4 separate regions of the Homo sapiens genome follow, and all the other regions are linked to region 3. The links are contacts of gene promoters, found by promoter capture Hi-C in blood cells and fetal thymus (Javierre and others, 2016). All regions are on one chromosome and are shown on one strand. Each heading gives the region's core, a stretch centred on a gene start or on the middle of the fragment in contact. The rest is flanking DNA. Distances are from core to core; before and after follow the strand shown. Region 1 overlaps APC (APC regulator of Wnt signaling pathway). Region 2 overlaps EPB41L4A (erythrocyte membrane protein band 4.1 like 4A). Region 3 holds the start of EPB41L4A (erythrocyte membrane protein band 4.1 like 4A). Region 4 holds the start of APC (APC regulator of Wnt signaling pathway).

What was found. The method cuts DNA at HindIII sites, captures the fragments that hold promoters and counts their contacts. A CHiCAGO score of 5 or more calls a contact.
Region 1: a fragment that was not itself captured here is called in contact with the fragment with the promoter of EPB41L4A in region 3 in 2 of 17 cell types (erythroblasts and total B cells); the score reaches 5.6 in erythroblasts.
Region 2: a fragment that was not itself captured here is called in contact with the fragment with the promoter of EPB41L4A in region 3 in 2 of 17 cell types (endothelial precursors and erythroblasts); the score reaches 8.3 in endothelial precursors.
Region 4: a contact is called between a fragment that was not itself captured here and the fragment with the promoter of EPB41L4A in region 3, in 1 of 17 cell types (total B cells). The highest score is 5.7, in total B cells.

What each region holds. Positions count from the first base shown.
Region 1 is chr5:112,761,272-112,767,525 of GRCh38, reverse strand. APC (APC regulator of Wnt signaling pathway) reads right to left here. Exons shown (of 16, transcript NM_000038.6): 3 at 1,116-1,200; 4 at 136-337. Among named protein-coding and RNA genes, the nearest start is that of APC, 27 kb to the right of the region's middle. The HindIII fragment of the contact is 792 bases long and covers 855-1,646 here.
Region 2 is chr5:112,161,867-112,168,246 of GRCh38, reverse strand. It overlaps EPB41L4A (erythrocyte membrane protein band 4.1 like 4A), which reads left to right. Exons shown (of 23, transcript NM_022140.5): 23 at 3,129-5,628. The coding sequence ends at 3,257. EPB41L4A-AS1 (EPB41L4A antisense RNA 1) reads right to left here. Exons shown (of 3, transcript NR_015370.2): 3 at 5,746-6,096. Among named protein-coding and RNA genes, the nearest start is that of SNORA13, 3.6 kb to the right of the region's middle. RefSeq lists enhancers at 1,428-2,105, 2,106-2,783. The HindIII fragment of the contact is 2,122 bases long and covers 4,070-6,191 here.
Region 3 is chr5:112,415,666-112,421,828 of GRCh38, reverse strand. It overlaps EPB41L4A (erythrocyte membrane protein band 4.1 like 4A), which reads left to right and starts at 2,552. Exons shown (of 23, transcript NM_022140.5): 1 at 2,552-2,888. The coding sequence starts at 2,790. EPB41L4A-DT (EPB41L4A divergent transcript) reads right to left here and starts at 2,246. Exons shown (of 1, transcript NR_027706.1): 1 at 851-2,246. RefSeq lists a silencer at 1,798-1,887. The HindIII fragment of the contact is 9,034 bases long and covers 1-6,163 here.
Region 4 is chr5:112,736,075-112,741,850 of GRCh38, reverse strand. It overlaps APC (APC regulator of Wnt signaling pathway), which reads right to left and starts at 3,966. Exons shown (of 16, transcript NM_000038.6): 1 at 3,926-3,966. The HindIII fragment of the contact is 1,642 bases long and covers 2,906-4,547 here.

The DNA.
Region 1 (6,254 bases), core at 1-2,500, 350 kb before region 3:
CTTTGAGTTTAAAAATGCAAAATGCTCTAAGTGTTAGCTATCACCTACTATAAATTCACAATTTAAATATTATATTACAAAATAACAATAAACTGGAGTACACAAGGCAATGTTTACTATATGAAGAAAAGTTACCTCTCTTTCTCAAGTTCTTCTAAATATCCAGTACTTTCTCTGCTTCCATTTACAAACCCTCTTCTTGGAAATGAACCCATAGGAACAGGACTGCACTCTCCAGAACGGCTTGATACAGATCCTTCCCGGCTTCCATAAGAACGGAGGGACATTTTTGACCGCAGTTTTACTCCAGGGAAATTACTGCTATCTAAGTTAAGCTCTAAATAAAATAGAAACAAGTTTTTATACAACAATTGCTTTAAGCAGTCTAAAATATTCTTAATGTTATATTATTTTAAAGTGAAATATTAGGTTTACATTTTAACCACAAATATACATGACTGAAAACAAAAATTATTTAGGACTTTCCCTGAAAAGTCCACTTGGGTCAGGGTAAAAATAAGGAGTGTGTTAAAGGAAAATTAGATAAAATGTACTTCCTTAGACTTCCTCTAAATAATATTTTAGAATCCAAAAGTAATTTCTCTGTCTGGCTTCAATTATTATCAAGCACTTTCTCTGTTCTGACACTGGAATTTTCAAGCAACAGAATGAGAAAGATATCCTTTTAAAACTGCTAAAAATGAATTATAATCAACTTATATATGTGAAAAGGTTAAAGTATTTCTATCCTGAATGAAGAAGACAATACTTCTTCCAATGAAACAGTAGGCTCAAGTCTATGGCATATAGAATACTAAAGCCCTATTTAGTGACTGGCAGAATAGCAACAAGCTTTACAAAGAGCCGAAAATTATTTAAGGGAGGGATTTAAAATAGTTCATTCAAAGCCAGTTAAATGTTTAACTGAAGAAATGACACACAAATACATTTTTTATTTATTTGTACTTTAACAATTACATCCTGAGGGTAAGGCTAACATACCAAGAAAACTGATACCAACACCCAAATCGAGAGAAGCTGTACTTGGATCTACACACCTAAAGATGACAATTTGAGCTTAAAAAATTATTTTAAAACACCTTTTTAAAATCTACCTTTAAGACGCTCTAATAAATCAATCTGTCCAGAAGAAGCCATAGCTTCATCTTCAATACTTCCTTGTAGTTGTTTAAGTACTTCCTGTTAAAAAGAACACAATATATTAACATGAAATTCTAAATAACTTCAAGACATGATTCTGTATTTCTTGACATTTAAGTATGCTGAGAAAAAAATTCAGATCACTCTCAAAGCACGCACCTTATATATATTACCTATTATTCATTATTAATAAATAAATCATGGCCAAATAATAATAGTGATATTTTGAGATAATGGTGATTATGGGGAGTCTCTGTGCAAGGTATTAGAAACACATTTAAGATACATTCATTATTTCAAACCTAAAAACCAACAATGCAAATTATTCTCATTTTTCAGATAAAACAAGTGAGACCCAGAGACTTGCTCAAGTTACAAAAGCTACTTATGTGTTTAGAATCCATGTCTCTTAAGCGTGCACCAACATGACCATAAAAAACACCAAATTAACACATAATCTATTTAACAACTTCAACATTCAAGCTTTTATATACCACATTTAAGTATATTCTGCTAGTATACTAATTTACAATTAGCATACATTCAAATGACTGTATGTTCACTACTTCTTGACTTTTGATGCTTTTCTTCTTTCCCATGTAATCCCTTTCTTGATCATTTTTTCTCAAAGAATGTTGGAAATTTTCATTTTCTACCAGTTTTTCTGCCATTACATTTGTGAACTTTGGCTCTTATTGCATGCTACTTAATAATAATTTATATTATTTTCCATTTACTGAGGCATTCCATTCTAGCTCCTAGCATAGTTCTTTGGCCAATCAGGTTTCCTGAATGCAAGACAAAATATTTGAACATTTGCAACTTTGTAACTAAATGGAACGTTCCCCTATAAGAAAAGTAATCTGTAAATACATTAAAAGGAAAACCTGTCAAAAAGTGAGTGACTGGAGCAAAGACGGTTTCACTGATTTATCTTGACAGTGACATTGTAAGCATTCATGGTGGCTCATGCCTGTAACCTCAACGCTTTGGGAGGCTAAGGCAGGAAGGTCACTTGAGTCCAGGAGTTTGAGACCAGCCTGAACAACATAGCGAGACTCTGTCCCTACAAAATTAAAAAAACAAACAAACAAAAACCATGAGTGGTGGCATGTGCCTGTAGTCCCAGCTACTTGGGAGGCTGAGGCAGGAGAATCACTTGAGCCCAGAAGTTTGAGGCTGCAGTGAGCCACAGTCTCACCACTGCACTCCAGCCTGGGGGACAGAGTGAGACCTCAGCTAAAAAAACAGAAACAAAGAAATCGCCCCCAAACCCCAGAATTCCTTTTAATAAATAGCCTTAGTATCTGACCTTCAAAATAATAGACTATGTTGGAGTTTGAAAGGCTTTGGTAAGTAGATGTGGGGGCATGAAGGTGACTGTATTATTTTCAAAATATTCCAGAGTGTTTTACATTTGTGGAATAGAAAACAAATTTGCTCAGTGATAACTTCCTTTACTGAATTTGAATATGCCCATCAAAATGTCTACTATAAACTTCAGGGCACCATCTCTTCCATTTAAGAACTCTCATTGGAGACTACCTGTGATTTTTCCAGGATTCCAATTCTCTTTCCATCCATTGCTACTGTTTTAGTCCTTCAATAATCCTTTTTTAATCTTATCCTTATTTCTCAGGCTTCCGGTCTCACAATTCAACAACTACCCTTGAGCAGTTAATTTCCAATGACATGTCTCGAATCCTAACTTCACTTGCAAACTTCAGACTCACTTTTCCAACCAACTGATGGATGCTTTACATCTGTATGACAGGTACCATACATCTAAATGTCCAGAACTGAACTAACATTTTGTACCAATAAAGCCTATTCTTTGCCTTGTATTCTCTCAGTTAAATGGCATTAGCCTTCTCTTTCTCCTCCAGCTCAAATCCTTAGCACCTCTTCCTTCACATTCCCAGTTATGGATTTCTGGTGATTCTACCTCTATTAGCTCTCTTACAGCTATCTCTTTCATATTCTTACTGCCACTATCTTGTTATTAACCCTACCTAAACTATGAAAATAATTTCCCAAGTGGCTCAACCTTGCACAGAGCTGTCAGAGCAGCCTTTTTAAGGCACAGCTGTGATCAGGTCTCTTTTTTTTTTTTTTTTTTGAGACGGAGTCTCGCTCTGTCGCCCAGGCTGGAGAGCAGTGGCGCAATCTCGGCTCACTGAAAGCTCCGCCTCCCAAGTTCACGCCATTCTCCTGCCTCAGCCTCCCCAGTAGCTGGGACTACAGGCTCCCGCCACCACGCCCGGCTAATTTTTTTTTTTTTTTTTTAGTATAGTAGAGACGGGGTTTCACCGTGTTAGCCAGGATGGTCTCGATCTCCTGACATCACCATCCGCCCGCGTCAGCCTCCCAAAGTGCTGGGATTACAGGCGTGAGCCACCGCGCCCGGCCGATCAGGTCTCTCTTTGTAAGATTCTTCTCCAAAGCCTACAGTAGTGTTCTCAAGCGTCAGCATGGATCAGAATCACCTGAAGACCTTGTTAAAACATAGACTGTCGATTCAGTAAGCCTGGGGTAGAGGCTGAAAATCTGCATTTTGAACAAGTTCTCAGGTGAAGCTGATGCTGAAAGCAGAATCATTAAAATGTTAACAGTGTTATTCTATGGAGACTGAAATTACAAGCAATTTCTTTTTTACTTGTTGTGTCATACTTTTTAAACAATATGTATTAGAAAAAATCCTACTTGTTTTTAGAAAAGTTACAAAGATTTAAAAGTTTAAAAATAAAAAATCCTTCGTACATCATTGGACATACATCTAATTTTTTCAAAACTAATGGTACATTAATGGTCTTTTTAAAAAGAAATAATAAAAACTTAAAATACTAAAAAAAGAAATTAAAAAGCCATATAAATTCAGATGTCCAACAATAAGTATTAAATAAACCATAGCATTTTTTAGCTGTACCTACAATGGAATACTATGCAACTGTAAAATACATAATCTGACGTAAGATGACAATAAATTACACAGAAAAAAAAAACCTGCAAAATATGATGTCATCAAATGCAAGTTTGCATAAATGTATAGAGAAAAGAATATATATATATACTATCAAAGGTTACTTTTACCTCTGGTGATGGGATTTAAATTTAAAAAAAAATAGTTGATTTTGATTTTTTTTGTCCACACTTCCTAATTTAATAAAATAGTGAATATACTCAACTTGTAATAAAGTTCTATTTTTAAAAATTTCTGTACACATTGTTAGAAATCTATTGATAGCTATAAGCATAAAGGTAAATAAGATTTAAGGTCAAACAATTTTTAAAAAGATTCCCAAAGTAGTCACCTTGGAAAGCTACTAACTTACTCCAATGATGTGTTAAATTACTTTTGTAAGTGCTTTGAGTTATGAACCTCATCAACAAAATCTGTGTAAATTTACAGTCACATCCAGTTACTTTGCCTTAAGATGATACCATCCAATATGACCTACATTATTTACTAGTTTGCTGTGAACAGTTTATGGCTATTCCACAATAAAAACTGACCTCAAGTAATTTTTTTCCTGTTTTATTGAGGCACAACACACATATGTAAAATACACTAATCCTAAATATCCAGTGAATTTTCACACCCATGTAATCACTATCTAGGTGAAAATACATTTCTAGCACCCCAGAGGGTTCCCTCAAGCTCCTTTTACCAATCTTCATTTCCTAGAGGTAACCACTATTCTGGCTTCTTTATCAGAAGAGTTTGGCATGCTCTTGACCTTCATATAAATGGAATCACACAGTACATAAGTATTTTGTGTCTCACTTTTTTTGTTCAACATAGTATCTGTGAAATCTGTCCATGCTGTTGCCTTATCAGTTCATTGTTTTTAAATGTTGTATAGTATGTAGCAGTCCACTGTATAAATACAGCCCAATTTATCTATCCTTTCTCCTCTTAAAGGGGCATCTGGGCTGTTACCAGTCTGCAGGCTATTATTTAGAATGTCACTATGAACATTCTTGTACCGTTTAGTGGACACTTGCCCTCACTTCTCTTGAGTACATTTCTAGGAGTGCAAACACTGAGTCATAGGGTTTAATTTTAAAGGAAACTGCCAAAATGGTTTTTAATACTTCTCTCAGCAATGCCTGAGCATTCCAATGCTCCACATTTGGTGTGATCAGTCTTTTAAACATCAGTCATTTGAGTAGGAGTGAAATAGTCTTTGCATTTCCCTGATGCCAAATGATGCTGAATCCCTTTTCATGGACTTATCTGCCATTTATCTTTCTTTTTGAATTGTCTTTTCAAGTCCCTGGGTCACATTTTAAAAACTGGATTGTCTTTTTGTTACTGGTTTGTGGGATTTATATATTCTGAAGGAATTACTTAATATATTCTGAACTGAGCCTTTGGTCAGATATATGTATTGCAAATATTTTCTCCTCTATGGCTTACTTTTTCATTTTCTTAATGAAGTCTTCTGAAAAGCACAGGTTTTTAATTTTGATGAAGTTTATCTTATACATTTTTATGTTTAGTCTTTTGTGTGTCCTAAGAAATTTTGCCCACCCAAGGCCACATAGATAAGATTATCCTATGTTTTCTTCTAGAAGCACACTCGAGTCTTTTGATGAACAAGAGTTCTTAGTTTTAATGAGGTCTATCAAATTTCTTTCTATATATGGTGCTTTGGCATTCTGTTTAAGACATCTTTGCCTACTCCCAGGACAAGAAGCTATTACCTATGTTTTCTTCTAGAAGCCATTGTTTTGTCTTTTTTGTTTTTTCCATTTTTTTCTCTGTGCTTCAGTTTGAATATTTTCTACTGATCTTTTTTCAAGTTCACTAATTCTGTCTTCTCACTAGTTCACTAATTCAGTGTTCAGCCTGCTGTTAAGCCCATCCAATGTTAATTTCAAATATATTTTTCAGTTCTAGAATATCTATTTGATTCCTTTTAATTATAGACTCCAATTCTCTGTCAAAATTTTCTATCTGTTCATTTTTCTTTTTTTCAAGACATTTATAATACTTATGTTAAAATCCTTGACTACTAACTGCAACATGTGGATCATCTGAGTTTGCTCCTATTACCTATTTGTTCCCTTGATTATCAGTAATCTTCCAG
Region 2 (6,380 bases), core at 3,881-6,380, 260 kb after region 3:
GCTGCCTTAACAAAATCACTTTAACACTTAGCTGAATTTGATAATCAGGGGAACACTGTAGCAAACATAGTTCAGGAAGAGTTTCATACCGCCTCTCATGATGTATTTTTTAATAAGATGGGAAAAAATGTGGGCTGAATAAGACAGTTAGATGGATTTATATCTGGTTAAACAACCACTGTAAAACTCTAAAAACAAAGTTGATGTGTCTGATGGATCAGGGTCAGCCCGTTGTTCGTCGTGTTGTGGTTTTCAGTGTCATTTGATCATGGATCCTTTAGAAAAGCCAGTTGTATCTACTGACTCTCATCCCATAAAAATGCATCTAAGCACATGTACAGTTTTTGGACCACGTAAGAAGCCTGACACCAGCAGTATCTATCATGTATGGCCCTTTTTGTTTTTATCAATGACTGGAGCAAGGCCTGTGCTAATTTAGGTTAGGTTCCCTAGATAGATTCTGAAATGGAGATCTGCATGCAGGAAGCTTGTTGGAAAGTGCCCACGGGATCCATAGTTGTTGGGGAGAAAGTCAAAGACGGGTTTGGGCAGAGGCAAGAGCTGATCCGCACAGGGAGCTCTAGAGCTGAGATGGCTCTTCAAATTCATTCTACTTTGGGACAAGGGGGTTGAACTTTTACACATTCACACTCACCCCATAGAAGTCACTGGGTAAGGGATGTTCTGGGAAGGGGGATTTCTCTTCAACTGAGGGCAGTTCCTGGGGAGGGGCTCAGTTTTGAGCTACACGGCAGGCAACACTCCCAGCAGCTAGAGAATGAATGCCTCAGTCTAGAATGGCGATCTGCATGGTAAACGCAGCTTCTACTATAATCTGCATAATATTTGATGAGATCAGCCTGGGAGAGCTAATAGGTTGTCCAAATAGACGATTGGTTTAAAGTTGACAGTACTTTTTCAAAATTATATTCATGATTAAGTTTAGGCTTTGCATTCTGACTGACCTGAATCATTTGTGTTTCATCTCTGTGTACTACTTGTGTAACTTTAATACTGCTAAACTTCTAAGCCTCAATTTTTATACAGTGTAGATAACCTACCTCCTAGGGTTATTGTGATGATTAATAAGCAGTTATCTTTCGGTGTTTTTTTTTTTTTTTTTGTCTTAAATTTTAGTTGGTTTCAATACAAGTAGTAATTTTTATTTCCACTCAGGAATTAAAAAAACTTACACATATTCTAAGTTGGAAGAATAGCTTTCACTTTGCGGGATACAAGAACTCACATGCATCTTCTGATCAGTGGCACTGATTCTAAGCCTGTCTCCAGGACACTCTTGATTTTGAATTCAGTAAATATCCAGTGAGCCCATCTAAGGAGTGTTGAGCACTGGTCTGAGCAATCAGCAAACCATGGCCTAAGGGCCAAATCTAGTCTGCTGCCTTTGTACAGCCCAGAAGCCAGTAATGGTTTTTACACCTTTAAAGGGTTGTTTAAAAGCAAAACAAAATAACAGTAACACGTGACACAAACAGGATGTAGTTTACAGTCTGGCTCTTTATAAAAAAGTTTGATGACCCTAGCCTAGACCTGGAGGCATAAAAGTAAACAGTTAAAACAAATAGGAGTATGCATTACAAAGAAATGCCTGAGCTAGAGAAGCAACAAAGTGACCTCACTTTACATGTTTAGGGTGGTCAGAGGCCATCTCAGAGAGTGGCATTTAAAGCTGAGACCTGGCAGGTGAGGAGCTAGCCATGTGAGTGGCTGCAAGGCTGATGTAATCAGAGTGAGGAATGTAGGGAAAATGCTGACTCTGGAGAGGGCCTGGGTATTTGAGGAGCTGAAAGACCAACATGCAGTGAGCTTGAGGGGAAAGGCAGATAACACAGGGACTTAAAGGCTGTGGGAAGCGTTTGGATCTTACTGTTTTATTCCAAGTGCTAAAAGGAAGCCACTCATCTGGCTGCCAAGCGGAGAAGGGGCTGGAGTGACCAGTGGAAGCTGGAAAGGTACATTTTTAAGGTACAACTTTAAGTTCTAATTTCCACCACAATGCCACCAGAGTTCTGGCAGTGACCTGCCTTACACCTCACCTTGCCTTTTCACGCAAAGGCTGCTAAGAATGGGGAAGAATAGCAACTTAATTTCTTAAGGTCTGCAGAGTGGACAGATTCAATCCTAGACAAACTTACAACATAGTACTTATTTCAGGTCCTCTCCTAGCACTTTTTTTCTGGTAATTCTTCTGCTGTATTCTCCTCTCACATTCACTGGTGTTCTCTTCCCACCTCTGGCTATCTAGAAATCTTCCATCCCAAATAGATGGGTTCATGCTTCCCATGATAGGCAGAATAATTATTCCATCAGTGCTTTTTGAATGTCAGTAAAACAAATTAAGCCAGTCATAGGAACAGATTAAAGGTAGCTGCATTTTAAGAGGGATTTATTTATTTTTAGCTCAAACAAATCTCAAAATAGATTGGGACGGTATAGCCCATTATTTATGGGAATATACATTTGGGGAAGGAAATATGCTTGCCAGCCTGATACACTGACAATGTTAGACCATCCTTGGAAGTAAGAGGAGGAGGGGTTCGCATAAGAAGTAGTAGTTGTGAGTTAGTGTCATTCTCAGAGCCTCCACCAGTGATGATGGGAGATGTGTAAAACCTAAGTTTTACAAACTAGTGGATGTGGTGCCCAGGCTCTGGTAATGAGCTGCCCTGTTTCTCCGTATGAGACAAGTGATAGGGGCTCACAAGACATTGTTCCATTCATTGACTACTGAAAATATAATCAGGGGATTATAAATTGCCTCCAAGTCTCCATCACTATCCTGTTTGGAAGAGTGAGGTTGAGAGCCTGGTTTGGGAATTGTTAACAAAAGTAATGACACTGATTTGGGTGAATTATGCCTAATATTCATGAATAAAATCGTTATGCATGTAAATGTCAGACTAACTTTGTATATTAAAGTTTAAATACAAACTTTATTTTGCACAGCTATTTAGAGGGAACATTTATTGAATAGCTTTTGGTATTATGAAACTTTTGAATTAACTCAGTATCTTAAATTTAAGAGCAGCTTGGTTTCTGATGTAATTAAAATACTTCATTTGGCTGTTTTCTTCTGAATCTTTCTACATTTTTCAAATATATTTTAGAGAAGAAATGGGTCTAAAGATAGCCTGATGGAAGAAAAACCTCAGACATCTACAAACAACCTGGCTGGAAAACACACAGCAAAAACAATAAAAACTATACAAGCTTCCCGCCTCAAGACAGAGACTTGATCCTGATGAAGGGTCAAGGGTAGGGGTGGGAAGGTTGTGTGCGCCACTGGTACTTTTGAAACTGTGAAATAGGTATCTTAATTCAAATCTCAGACCTGCAAGTATTTCTTCAGCATGAGAAAATACATTATCTTTTGCTTCTTTTTTTTTTTTTTTTTGAGATGTTATCACTCTGTCGCCCAGGCTGGAGTGCAGCGGCACCGTGTCAGCTCACCGCAGCCTCCACTTACTGGGTTAAGCGATTCTCCTGTCTCAGGCTCCCGAGCAGCTGGGATTACAGGCGTGCACCACAACACCCGGCTAATTCTTTTTGTATTTTTAGTAGAGACAGGGCTTTGCCATGTTGGAGGCTGGTCTCGAACTCCTGACCTCAAGTGATCCGCCTGCCTCAGCCTCCCAAAGTGCTGGGATTATAGGCCATGGTTTAACTACAGCACAGTTGTGCTGAAGGACCTTTTTGTTTTAACTGGAAGAATAAGTATTTTGTAAAAATTCACTTGATACCACATTTTCATTTCTGGAACAGGATAGCAATCATTCATTTCTATCTTGTGTCTGTGTCCACCACAACCAAGACCAGATGCATCTGATGAACATTCTGGAATTCTGAACTGCAGCTAGCCTGCTGTGCAATAGTACAAGTGGGAGGACGTCTTCCCAGGGCTGGGCTGGTTCTCAACTAGTGCCCAGATGCAAAAGGACTGAGGCATCACTTTCAGACTGCATATATTTTTATTCATATAAAGTTCTTTATAATACTTTATTTTGTGGTGTTAAGTTCCACCAGTTATTTACAAATGATGTAAAAAGCTTTAAGTGTTGTTAATTTCTAAAGTGTTCTTGCGTTTTCAGAAGTGTAAGTGGATCTCAGTTGATCTGTCACCCCAAACCTCAAATGATCCATCCACCCTGCTTGGCCATCTAATTCACCTGCTCTCCCCAGTGACTATTTTGTACCTTTCCTCTCCATAGATGACTTTGCAATCTACAGGGAAAATACTTATGCAGGACATCTTATATCTCCCCCTTACCACGTACAGTTCTCTCCACAGCTGCCAGCAGCCCTAACCTTTTTGTCTCTCCACCTGTGCTTTGGATGCTCTTCTCCCAGCCTTTTCAGGATCTTTGTCTGTCCTCCTATATTAATGTATTCAATTATTCTCTCAGCTAGATCCTTGCTACTTGGTTTTAAATTTAAGACTAAGATTAAACAAAACTATCTTTCACAACCACAAACCCCCTCCCGCCAAGCAACTAAGATTTTCCTCTCATTCTCAGCCAGTTTTCTTGCAAGCAGTATCTTTAGTCATTGCCCTCAATTCATCTAATCCCTATCTTAAGCTATCTCTAACATGGATCTTTCCCTCTACTCCACTAATATCAATCACTGTGTTACTTAATCCCAGGGAGAATTTTTAGGACATTCTTTTGCTTCTTTAATATAATCCTATTTTGCTCCTACCACTGACCATCCTTTCTGGCTTATCATGCTTTACCTTGCCATTAATTAGTGGAGTTTCTCAAACTTCAGACCCTAGGCCCTCTTCCTCTACCACCAGCAGATCTCATTTATACCCATGGCCTTAAGGTTTATTTCTGTAGTTTAGACTACTGAGTAATGTGCTACTGCAAAAAGACCATTTGGGTTTCTCAAAGGTAATTTAAAAATTCAGCTGTTTAAATGCTGCTCCCCAGCTGAATCTAGGGTCATTATGCTCATCAGTGTGCAAGCTGGACACCTAGCAGTTATGGACACCTCCACTATTACCACGTCTAGTTGGCTCTGTCATCCAACTATAAACGATCTTATTTCACTAATTTTACTAGTCCAAGCTGGTCTCTTGTCTAGACAACAATAAGCAACCTAGTTCAACTACCTTTTCTTGCAAATCTGATTTTCCACCATGGATTTATCTTGCTTTAATAAAGCCAGAGGGAGCCTGAAGTGGTCTGGCTTCTTTACCTACCTCTTCAGCCTCATTTTGTAACACTCTCACCTCCCATAATAGCCATCTTACAAGCCTCAGTAAGGACTCAGTTCTAAAACAGGGCACTGAAGAGGGAAAGCAGCCAAAACTGTCTCAAAAGTAAGTGGACTAACGGTATCTTTTTTCTAGCCCAAGCCTCTGTATATGTCATTCCCCCAGTTTTGCCTTGTGAAAAATATGACACATACCTTTAGTCTCAACTCTTTCTCAGGTTTCCCTAAGAAAATCCTATCACGGAACTCATCTCATAGTGAAGTTTTACATTTGTGATGACATTCCCTCCACTTATCTATGTTTCCAAAGGGAAGAACTGTGTTGTGCTCATCATCGTGTTCTCAGCTCCTAGTACAGTGCTTTCAATAAATTTTTTGAATACCTCTATACATTATTTGTCGTTTCCTGCAAAGCAAAGGCAGAAGATATGGCAACATTAAATGTACAATTTAGTTGGAGGAAAAATACGCATTGAGTGCAGTAAAGCACACCTGTCACTAGAAATCAGTCTAGTTCTAGCCACGATTTTTGAGTCACTGGAAGAAAGTACATTTCTCTTTGGGCCAAACACAAGCTATTTTAAGGCTATTAATTATGGTGACAGCAGTGAATACTGATCAAAAAAGAACCCCTCCTCCCTTATAACTTTTTAGAAATAGCTGTTTCTGGCAGTTAATCACTTAAAACACAAATGCCAAAGTGCATTAATATATTTATTCACATCCTCACTGTCTTAAATGTGTATTTACAGACTCCAGCAGGTAATTATGTCAGTACTCCTCAGACTCCCAGAAATTTCAAATGATCCAGGCAACTCTTGTGAAGATCAAATTTTCAAAATCCTCACCAAGGACATCCTAAGAGAAAAAATAAAGTACTCAATTCGACAGCAAATATTTTTGTATTACATTTTAATCAAGAACTTGGTAATATGCCTGCGATTTCACAAGCTTTTAAAAAACTCAATTACTACACATAAAAACAAATCTTAAAGAGATGCAGAATGCCAGTACTATGCGTATTTATTTCCCTGGGCTTCTCAGGAAGTATCAGCAAAACCTTCCCAAAAATAAGCTGTGGAGGCTATCCCATTTATTAACTCACCTTAATAGCTACAGACAGAGCAACACTACGAATGTAC
Region 3 (6,163 bases), core at 1,303-3,802:
GTAGTGAGCCGAGATCGCGCCACTGCACTCTGATAGAGCGCGACTCTGTCTCAAAAAAAAAAAAAAAAAAAAGAAAGATGACAAAGTGCAGGAGGAAACCTTAGGGAGGGATGAATATGTGTACTAGCTTGATTATGGTGGTGGGTTCATGGGTGCACACTTATGTCAAAACTTATCAAATTGTACACTTAAAAATTATGCAGTGAACTGTATGTAAATTATATGCAATAAAGCTATCCTTAGAAACTCTGTGGAATCCTCTTGTCACTAGTAATCTCTAATTTTGTGTTAAATAGATTTTAAATGTTCTTTTCTCCAGTCTCCGATAAAGAAATGGAAAAGAAAATGCTTCACTCAGGAAAGAGTGTCATATGTATGGGACCTTATGGCTTTGTAACTTACCTTATGAGGAGCTGGGAACAGAATCCCTGCCCATCCAAAACCCTCAGCCTTCTCACTGCCACTGGAGGTAAAAAAACAAAAACAAACAACAGCAAAACCAAAAATCAGAAAGCAAAAAAACCAAATCAAAGGGCCAAAAAACAGGTGAGAGCAAAACTCAAAAAAACTGGGAACAGATGATTGCTTGAACCTTTTGTTTTTGCAGCCTCAAGTGTCTCGGTTGGATATGGAGGTAAAGAATGAAAATGTTAAGCCATCTTTCAATCACATTTGGTAACTCCTGTCAGGAATACTGTATTACAGAAAAGAAAAGCCTCTACAAGCAGAAATGCTAAAATCTAGCATAATAAGGTGTCACCTCATAAGGCAGGCAAGACTTTGACAATAAAACAAAGCTGGACACGAAATTTGATCAGAAATTCAAAACCTGAGTCAATTTCACAGAAAATTCAGAAGATAAAATAGTTTTATTCATAGCCTAGGTAAAGTTCAGAAATTTATATTGCACTTTGGCGGTTATGCTGATCCTGTGTTTGGATGGGGTCACAATAGCAGGGAAGGCCGAGGCTTCCTACAGAAGGTCCTTTGTGGCAAATCACTATGAGAGGAAACTCCATCAAAAGTCGCCAATTGTTCATTTCATTTCTACTGTGCTACGGAAGCCTGGTTTTGTTTTAAGGGCTAACGTCCTAGGTTTTAAGCAATTTTTTTTGAGCTTTGGCTACCCAGCTAACAAGCAGTAGAATAGTCAACTCAAAACTACGTCTGATGCCAAAGCTCTAACTCTAAAACTCAATATAGAGTTTTTTTTCTGTGACACCTCCCCTCGTGTCTCCCCTAACTGCGACTCGCATTAACTCGCTGCTGGTTCCCAGCTGGAGAGCACAGATTGCACCTGCTCCGAAGCCCAGCGGGGCTCAGTGTCGTCCGCAGCTCAACCTCGGCTGCCTGTGCACGGACATCGGGACCCACCAGGGGTCACTGCAGCTTCAGAGCTATTGTGCCCCTCAGTCCTGGACGCGGCCGACCGCGCGGAGGGCGTGGGATTGGGACCGCCGAACCGTGGGGTCCGAGCAGCACCGCGTCCTCTTCTCCCCACCCAGCCTCCAGGTCTCTCGGGGGAAGGACGCAGCGAGCGCTGGACTGCCCCGCGGCTTGGGCGCAGTGTGCGGCTTGGCAGCGTGGACTCGCCGGCACCTCGCCGCTGGGACCACGGTCTCTGCCCCGCCCTCCGCCCCCAGCTGATACCCCGCCCAGAAGGGGCTCCCCTGCCGCGGCCAGCGCTGGACTGGGGGGTCCGCTTCGTTCCAGGGCTTTTTGCAGACGCCTGGACCGGGCCCACATGCACCTGGGCTGCTCCCGCCCGGGGCGCCACCACTCGCGCGGCCAAGAGAACTTTCCCCGGAGCCTCTGCGGCCTGGCGCGCCCAGGGCGCACCCCCCGCTCGCCCGTCCGCCGCGTTCCCAGCTGGGGCGTCGCTCCTCCGCCCGCAGGTCCCCGCCTCCCCGCTTTGCTGAATGTCCTGAAGAAGCCGTATTCCGCCGCCGCGGCAGGCATTCCCGGAGGGAGAGCTTGAACTTGGCTACACACGGCCACCCGTAATGAGCTCGGGAGTCCCCGGACGGGAGCCACACCCCGCGACGAGCTGACCTCCCCTCGCTGGTCTGGGTAAGGAGCCTGCTGCCCTTTCCGCCTCTCTTCCGGCTCCTCGGCGCTTGCGGCTGGGGGACGGGGTAGCGGACGGAGCGACGACCTTCGCCTCTGCCCCTGCGCCCATGGTCGGGGCGTCGTGGGTGCTCCTCACACAAAAGAAAAGCCGAGCGCTTCATACTCGGCGGATCTGACCCGGGGCTGCGGGGCGGGGTCGCGGCTGGAAGTGCGCGCCCGCGGGGGACTCCGCAGGCCGATCGGACGCCAGGACGTCGGGGCCGCGCTCAAATCCGTGCGGCAGGAGGGAGGTGCAGCGCTTCCAGGGTTTTCCAAGGCCGGGGAGAGCCTCGAATTCCCATCACTCCTTTTTCTGGTCTCTTGCCCCCAGTGCCAGGAGACTTTTGTCGTCCCCAGGACTGCGGGAGGGGCCCCGCGCCCCCGCCTTCGGAGGAGCTCGAGCCGCAGGATGCGCGGGGACGCGCCACCGCCCTCCGCGCCCAGTTCCGCCGGCGCTTCCCCGGCGGCTCCCGGGCGCTGACTCTCCCGGGCTTTTCCGCCTTTCTCGCTCCCGCCCCGCCGGGCGGTTCGGCGGCCGGTCCCCGGACCCCGCCGGGAGCTGCTCGTCTCACCCTCGCCACGGCGCGGACAATAAATTAATGCATCGCGCTTGAGTGGAGGGGGCGGCTGGGCGCCTCGGTGGTAGCTTTCTCTCCTGGCTGGAGACGACCACAACCGACATGGGCTGTTTCTGCGCTGTTCCGGAAGAATTTTACTGCGAAGTTTTGCTCCTGGATGAATCCAAGTTAACCCTTACCACCCAGCAGCAGGGCATCAAGGTGGGTGCGGCCCGGAGCGCGTTCCGGGGGTTGGCGGCAGGGCGGGTGCGGGGGTCCATCGCTTTGAGGGCTGTCACCGGTGGGTCGAGGGCGGCGGCCGCGACTCTGCGCGGTGGGGAGGAGAGGCCGCTGTCCCCTGCGCGCAGGGAGAGGGTGGACGTACCAGGGTGAGTTAACTTTGAGTTCCTTCATAAAGCAAAGTTGAGTTTGACGTTTCTAAGTTTACTCAGCACACCGGCTCCCAGCAGCACCCCAAAACTCTTCCCCAAACCGGTTTTCTCCAAAAGCCTCTGGGTGCCCCGCAGCTCTCAAAGAGGGGCAGAATGGGTTATACCAGCTGCGTCCCACCAGTGTGGAAGGCATGGTTTCCCTCGACTTTGTTGAAGGCGTTTTCCTTGACAGTGTTATTAGGGAAGTGAACTAGTTCACTCGTTGAAACGCATTAATGGGTCATTGTGATTGTTTTGCGTGGGTTCGTAGTTGGGTAATGCTACGTTTGGACGGAAAATATTTTCCCTTTCTACAGCGACCTGGGTTTATCCTCACATTTAAGTAAACATCTCTCAAAGCGACCCAGTAATAACTTTGCTCCTGTTTGTGGGTCATTAAAATGCAATCACTACATTAACCTAGAGAGCCCAAACAAAAAGGCAGCAGAGCTCGCAGAGATCCTCTTCCTTACATTGGATGAGAAGGTACGTATGTTTGTAGTGACAACCTGACCGACGCGCCTGCGTGCTTGTTTTGCTTTTGCAACAGTGTTAACTACCTAAAGGAGATCTAAATCCGGAGCGTTTTGTTGTTTTGTTTATCTTTCTCTTTCAGTTTTAGATCGCTAAGGCATTTTAGATAAGGCAACAGCTGAGTCTGGTGAAGGGAAACCGCCCCCCCGCCCCCGCTCTGATAGAGCTGGCTTTCTGAGAAATCGAGTTCAGGCTGCCAAGTATCCTCTCTTAGTCGCTTCATCTCAGAAGTTAATCATAATGGGGTAGGCCCTGGGCATTTCCTTTTGTGAATCAGTTTTTACATAGTTTTATGCACACTAGGATAACTATTCCTGGCTAAAAGTTTCAGCGTTAATGTTGCCATTCTTAGTGTACAGAATTCCAGTTTCATAGGTGTAATTCTTTTGCGGGAGAAAGGAGCAAAAATAATCAGTTAAAGCTACAAGATTGTTAACCCTTTCCTTTAGGAGGTTGTTTTGAATATTGTTTCCCCAGTAATTATACTGAGCAAAATTCAGTTCGATTCTCATTCGGTATTTCCTTTCAAGACCAATAAAATAGACTCTTTTCGGGGAGGGTGTACATTTTGTATTTTTAACTTTTCTTTATGTTCCAAAATATTTCTCCTCTCACCCGCCCAATGAAATCAGGAAAATATTGTAACTTACAAGATGATGTAACATTCTTTGGTGTACTGTATGAATAAAATAGGCAAAAATCACAAAAACATCCTAAATTGTAGATAATATATAGATTCTTGTGTCGAGATAGAAACAATTAGAAAAAGGTAACTGATGATCAGATACTAAGACAGTAAAGAAATCTTTTTGAAGTGCAAAGTCTAAATTATCTGGAGTCTAAAGTCATCTGGAATGTGAGCTTCCTATTTAATCATCAAAGTCATGCCTATCAGCTGTAGAGCGTGTACATTATTCTGTCAAGAGAGCAGCCAGGACTTGGGATCAAATGGAATAATTTTGTCAAAGAAACATGAATCAAAAATCCTGATCCATAATTATTTTTTATAATCCAGTGGTGCTTATCTTGTTTTACAAATGGGCTGAAAATTGGTGAGTGATTCAAAGGCAACAGCAACTATGTAATACTGTTACTTTGGATATGGGCCATATAACTAAACAATAATTTAAGCAGGCTGTTGTTGGAAATAATCATTTAACAACAGGCTTGGCCTCTGTCCTTGTCACAAAAGCATGCCACAATTATTTTGATGGCCATGTGTGTAACACAGATGTTGTCTGCTAAAGCTAATCACATTATCTTCTATGCTACCTTAAAAGTGTATGTGTTAAACACCTACCCACCCTTGGCGTGTACTAAATTAAATATATTTGCATATTTATAAATGGTGTGTATAAAAAAACTTGCATGTAGAGGTATTCAAACATTGGATGAACATGTTTATGTTCTGTACATACTTGACATTTTAAAAAACTTTTTCCTAACCTTCCTGTATTATGGTGCATAGGTACAATTGATGTGTGTTGCATTAATTACTTAAAATTAACTCCTACTTTAGTTTGTAAATGAAAAAGTAAACAGTTACTTCAAAGTTAATAGCCAGTAGCTACCATTATGGTGTTTTTCCTTGAGATAGTATACTTAGTAATTTTGATTACCACTAATTAAAGTCAAAATTAAGCAGGCAACATCAATTAGCCTACTGTTCTCTGAAATTAACTAGAAAAATCTCTATTTTTCAAAAGCATTTCCTAACATTTATTTTGTGATTATCCTTTTTCCTATTCTATCTTAGATGAAGATGGCTAATTTTACATTAAAATTATGCACACATTTCATCTCTTAGTAGAAATAATTTTACTGATTCCTAAATGGTTACTTGAGAATTTGCTTGTATTATTGTTACAGTAATGCACTGTGAATTAGAAAAGATTAATTATAGCAAGTTAAGGTGGAAGAAATATGAGAGAATCTTGGTAAACATTTTTTCTGTGTATCATTTTGAAAAACATTCTTTGGATTTATTTAAGCACCAAATTACAAATAGAAAAGTTAGTTTTGAAGTGATTTTTCTTCAACTTAGATAAAGTTTTTCATCGATGTTAGAAAAAAAATTAATGTGTCATCATGAAAAGTGTTTCAGCCTGAAGACAACAGTTACTCATCTTATATGGTAAGATGAATATCAGTTAAATGGAAAATAATTTTATTTCCATTTAATTTCCATTTAAATGGAAAATAATTTTCTGTTAAAAAAAAAATACCAGAAAAATAAAACACAGTATCTTTGCATCCCTGTTAATGTTACGGAGGTATTTGCCTTTTTTACTTGCTTTAGGGGCAACCTCACCTTGATAGCAGAAAGTCTTATTCATGCAGTTCACAGTTTGAACCTTATCCGAGATTTAAAAACTCAAGTTTACATAAGCTGAGAGCTATTGGTTGTGTGTTGAGCCCTACAATAGCTTTTAGCTGTTTGTCTTTTGCTGCTATCTGTTGTTTATTCAAGTAAGGATATTTGGTATGGTTGGTCTCAGTTGTTTGAGTAATGTTCTGGGAAACTTTTGTTGT
Region 4 (5,776 bases), core at 2,477-4,976, 320 kb before region 3:
GTTCCCAGAATAGTCAAATTCTTTGAGACAAAAAGTGGAGTGGTGGTTGCCAAGGGTTGGGGGGAGGGGAAAATGGCATGTTAGTGTTTAATGTGCACAGAGTTTTAATTAGGGAAGATTAAAAATTTCTAGAGATGGGTGGTGGTGATGGTTGCACAACAATGTGAATGAACTTAATGCCACAGAACTGTACAATTAAAAGTGCTTAAGATGGTAAATTTTATGTATATTTATCACAATAAAATTTTTTTAAAAATCTCATTAACTGTAAAAAACAGACTCACAAAATGATGCTATTTCTCAAGAATTTATGCATATTAAACACACAAGAAGAGTGGGTGCAGGGTGTGAGAATAAAGGGGAGAAGGCTTACCTTGTATCAACTGATGATGTATGATTTGATTTACAAAGTCAACTTTTGAGAACATACCTATTCACCTAATGTTCTCATTGTACATTCAAGATACTTAGTACTTCAAAAGTAATTTAGTTTTCAAAAATTCTCTGTGACTCTAAGCAGATTTTATGAAAAAGCAGTGTTTCAAACAGCAATCCACCATATTCTTCTAAATTAGAGGATATCTTAGATTATATAAATCTTTAAATATCCTAGGAGTAGCCAAAGCAGTGTTTAACTTGTAATGAAATTTCACATAATTCTACCATGAGTTTTCTTAGAGATTAGTTTACGTGTCTTATTTGACTCCAGCATTTTTCAAAGATGATATTTAGAAGGTATCCTAATAAATATGTAGTGAATATATTTCCTAAACTATTACCCATCTTTTCTGAACCATAATACTCTATCCCATTTTATGTGCTGCATAGGTAGGTTTCAGATTCTAATACAAGAAAAGGGGGAGAAGGGAGATCAAAATTGAAGAGAACATTTAAACATATACAAGTATAAAAGATCATTTAAACATATACAAGTATAAAAGATTGGTTAAATTTCATAAAATGAGTAACAGTTTATAAAACAGACAAAAATGGTAAAATCTACAGAGCAATTAATGCAAATGGAAAAACTTCATGGTGGCTCACACCTGTAAATCCCAGCACTTTGGGAGGCTGAGGTGGGAGGATCATTTGAGCTCACGAGTTCGAGACCACCCTGGGCAACATGGTGAAACCCCATCTCTACAAAAAATATAAAAATTAGCTGTGCACGGTGGTATGTGCCTGTAGTCCCTGCTACCTGGAGGGCTGAAGTGGGAGCATCACTTGAGCCTGCGAGGTTGAAGCTGCAAGTGAGCCATGTTTGCTACTGCACGCCAGCCTGGGTTGACAAAGTGAGACCCTGTCTCAAAAAAAAAAAAAAAAAAAGAAAAAAAAACACAAAAAACAAAAACTTCAATAGCTTAAATTCAGTTCATAAAACATTTATGAATATTTAATTTTAAATTCCTTAAACAGCACAATTCAGGCCATATCAGAGCAGTGAATAATTTCAAAGACCACTAAAGCCAATAGGTCAGTCATAGATTAGATATACTACAAGAGGAATGAAATAAACTTTAGTTCTTTATTTCTTATTTAATTCAGAAAAACATCTCAATCTAACACTGTTCTACTTAAATGTGTTCATATGATTAATAAGACGATCTTTAAAAAGTCGTTTATGAATGTCATTATGAAAACTGCTGCTTCTCCATTTGCTTAGTCACCAGGTATTTTTTAAAGCATTCTTATATTGTAGATAAAAATCCACAACCAAGTAGGATTGCCTTTTCATTTTTTGAATAATTTGTCAGTGACTTACACTGTTTTTCAAATTACCTCTGTTATATATTATTTTGTATGTATGTAATAAAAGGCATTATAGTTTTATAGAATTAGAATAAAATAGAAGACTTAAGTTCTTTACATTGTTATACAATATTTGACCTTGGATAAAGTCACAACATACTTGAATAGGAGTCTCTAACATTTAAAATAAAAATAATGCTACAATGAGCTGTTAAAATGGTAAAAGGTAATTTATGTAAAAATAATAGTTTTATAGACTCTCAAACACTATGCTAATGGAATTCAAAGAACTGAGTAATATTAGCTGTTAAATGTCATTTGGAATTTTAATGTGACATCTTTAGTTCTAGCCATAGTTTCCATCAGATTTTAAAAAAGAGACTCTAAGTACTTTTTTTTGAGATAGGGTCTTGCTTGGTTGCCCAGGCTGGTCTTGAACGCCAAGGCTCAAGTGATCCTCCTGCCTCAGCTTCCCTCAGCCTCCTGTTTAGCTTGTATTACAGGCATGGGCCACCACGCCCGGCTCCTAAGTACTATTAACCCTGATATCCATGATCAAGTAATTCTTAAAGCAGAAATAATTTTTTAAAGAACTATTTAAATTTATCAGTGAAAAACTTATGTAGTCTTATTTATCTAAGCCAGCCCAATTCCGCATTATCTTGAAAATATTACTGAAACAATATAATAGGTCATCTTAAGACTTTCTATTACATAAACATTATTTAAGAGACACTGTCACTGACCCTGGAGGGCTTTACAAAGCCACTGCCATCCTTGTTCAGGGAGTGGGGAGGTGTGGCAGGCTGGCTACTATAAGTATGCATAAAGATAGGCTTTTACATTTAGGTAAAGGAAAAAAAAGCTCAATGAAAAACACTTTATATCAAGAGTATATCTCATGAGTACTCACTAAACAGAAATACATCTAGAAGAAAAGCCATGTTGCTTTAATTTAAAATATTTGCACACTGAATTAATATCTTAAATATTTATTCAGTGTTATCTAAAAGCAACCAAAGAGAAATATAAAATTACTTAACTATAGGTCTTAAATATTAGGCCTACAAAAATTTGTTCACCATAATTTTTGACAAAGTAATTTACGTTGTAAAGTGGTTTGCTCTTGAATGACCTAATTAATGGCATAAAAGCTTCACTAACAAAAGAAAAGATCCACTGTTTCATACATAATTTATTAAGATTTCGTATAGGATTTATGTTAAATCAAAGAATTTGAGCATCACTTTCGTGATGTAGAATCAAAGTGTCCAATACATTCCAATGACAAAACATTCATAGCCTGACATTATTCCTACTTTAAAAAACAGTAATTTTTTTTCTGCTGTTCAGGCTGCATTTATAAACTATGGCTTCTTGTAAATGGGCTTCTACCCCAGCATTTGCTGCAAGGTTTCTTATTCCTCTGCAGTTGTCTTTTCGGCCTAACAGAGGGAGAAAAAGCACTGCTGCAGTCGTCCGCAAAAAGCCACTACCACTGCATTTTGTAACTAACAAAGACACTGGTATCTGTTTGCCACCCTGTTCACAGGGAGTTTACTTAGATGTTTTACAAAAGCAGGCACACTACTGGTGACCAGTATTTCACCAACCAACACCACCACTCACGCTCTGCAGTACCTGCCTCCTCCTCTTTCTCTCATCCCCAGTAGCTCTTTCCACTAGATTCACATCAGCCATCTGCAGCGGTTTTGTCTCCTCTCTCTTTTGGCCACCAATGCATGTGTCCTTGTCGCCAGGGAGGAAAAGAAGCCTTTCAATGGGGTAGAGCTTTTGCTCCTCGCCATGAATATGCTCCATTCTTTGTTGTCCTCTACCCGTTTCCTTAGATACTGTTATTCCACTCTGTCAAATGGCATTATAAAAACAAAAACCCCTTCTGGCTTCAAAAACAGCTTTTCTCAGCAGACTCCCCTTAACACTTCTACCCCTCCCCCTTCTTCCTCTTCTGTCAAAAACCCTGGATCCGAAGTACAGGAAATCCATCTCCAGTGCTGCAGTGGGGGGCGGGGGGACGACGCCCCTGCCTCCTCGTTTGGCATGCTGCAGTGGACCCTGTGCCAAGGAAAGGCCATCGGTTTAAGACAGTGCGAGGGAAAACCACCTTCCCCCCTCCCCCCGCAGCAAGCCTGGCCATGGTGGCTCCAGCACCTACCCCATTTCCGAGTCCGGCAGCACCTCCATTCTGTCTCCAGTGACACCCTGGCGGGCTGCACCAATACAGCCACATGTCGGTCACGTGCGCCCACACCCAGCCAATCGGCGGGCTCCCGACGGGAATGGGGAGCGCCCTGGTCCGCATCCAGCGGATTACACAGCTGCTTCTCTCTCCGCTTCCCGACCCGCACTCCGCAGTGGGGCACAGGGCCCCGCCCAACCGCACAGCCTGCCTAGCCCTAGCCCCGTACCCCTCGGGGGTATGCCCTCGCGGCCCCAGTCCCCAGCAAGCAAGGAAGTTGATGGCAGTTGACACGCATAGTAAAGAGTCGGGGGAGGTCCGCAGGGCAGAAGGATTAGCACAAGATGCCGGAGGTGGGAGGGAGAGTAATAAATTACATCTCGATTGCTATGATTTTTGCAGCACAGAGAAACAATAATATTAAATGAATTACAATGAATAATTTTACATTACAAGTCACTGAGTTGTCAGAGTGATGACTTGTTAGATAGATCACTCGAATTATATTTGAATTAAAAATAGTTACCAGAAAAGCTATGCTAGCAGCTTAGTAGTGGAGATCAGAACTCTGGAAGTCTGGGTTGCCTGAGTTGAAGCTTTACTCCTGTCACTCTAGCTCTGTAACTTTAGTTACTTAACCTCTCAGTGTTTCAATTTCCTGCTGTATAAAACGGGAACAGAAGTACAGAATAGAGGAGTTAATATATATGAAGTATTTAGAGCAGTCCCTGACACATACATAGAAGTGCTGTTAGCTACTACAAATCTGAGGCTTTAATGTAGTATTTTAATGCAAATTCTACATTGCATTTAAATCGAACCAGGTGATGCTTAAATTCCCAATTTTATGAGGTTGAAGGACAAAATCCAAACTGTCAAGAATATATAAAGTTAAACTTAAATTCTGGTTTAAATGGGGGGAAACCAGTTTCTATTATCTATTTAAAATTTAAAAGGATACTATACTTCAAGTTTTCTTTGTTTGTTTTTTGAGATAGAGTCTTGCTCTGTCACCAGGCGAGTGCAGTGGTGCAATCTCCGCTCACTGCAACCTCCACCTCCCGGGTTCAAGCGATTCTCCTGCCTCAGCCTCCCAAGTAGCTGGGACTACAGGCACGTGCCATCATGCCCAGCTAAGTTTTGTATTTTTAGTAGAGACGGGGTTTCACCATGCTGGCCAGGATGGTCTCAATCTCCTGACCTTGTGATCCGCCCACCTCGGTCCCTCCAAGTACTGGGATTACATGCGTGAGCCACTGTGCCCGGCCTAAACTTAAAGTTTTTAAATGAAGCATATTATAATCGTTTCTTAATTTTCAAATAGTATGAAAAGAAGCAAGCTATTAAATAGCATATTTGAGGCAATTCCATTTGATTAAAAAATGTATATATTAGAAAAGCAATAGACACACAACAAAATGTCCATAGAGGTTATTCCTGGAAAGTGAGATTATGGAGCTATTTCTGCTGTCCTTTCGTGCTTTGTTTTTTTTCTCTTTCATTAGTCCCTGTGTTACAATGCCTGATATACAGCAAATACACCCCAAATATTTATTTAACAAGTGAGTTATTTCCACACTGATGGCATACTACTGTTCTATTAAAAGTTTAAATATATTTAGAAACAATTTCCCTTCATATTTGAAATAAATAAAAGCATGTAAATCAATTTGATTATATTCTAAATAACTCTCTTTTGAGAATGACTTCATTTTACAAAAGGCTTTCAAAATCCTCTTACTGAAAGCACATGATTCACTGCACAGGACTTATTTACAAGTCATTTTTTGTGACAAATTCAGAATAGGTAATTTCTCATAAGGCCTA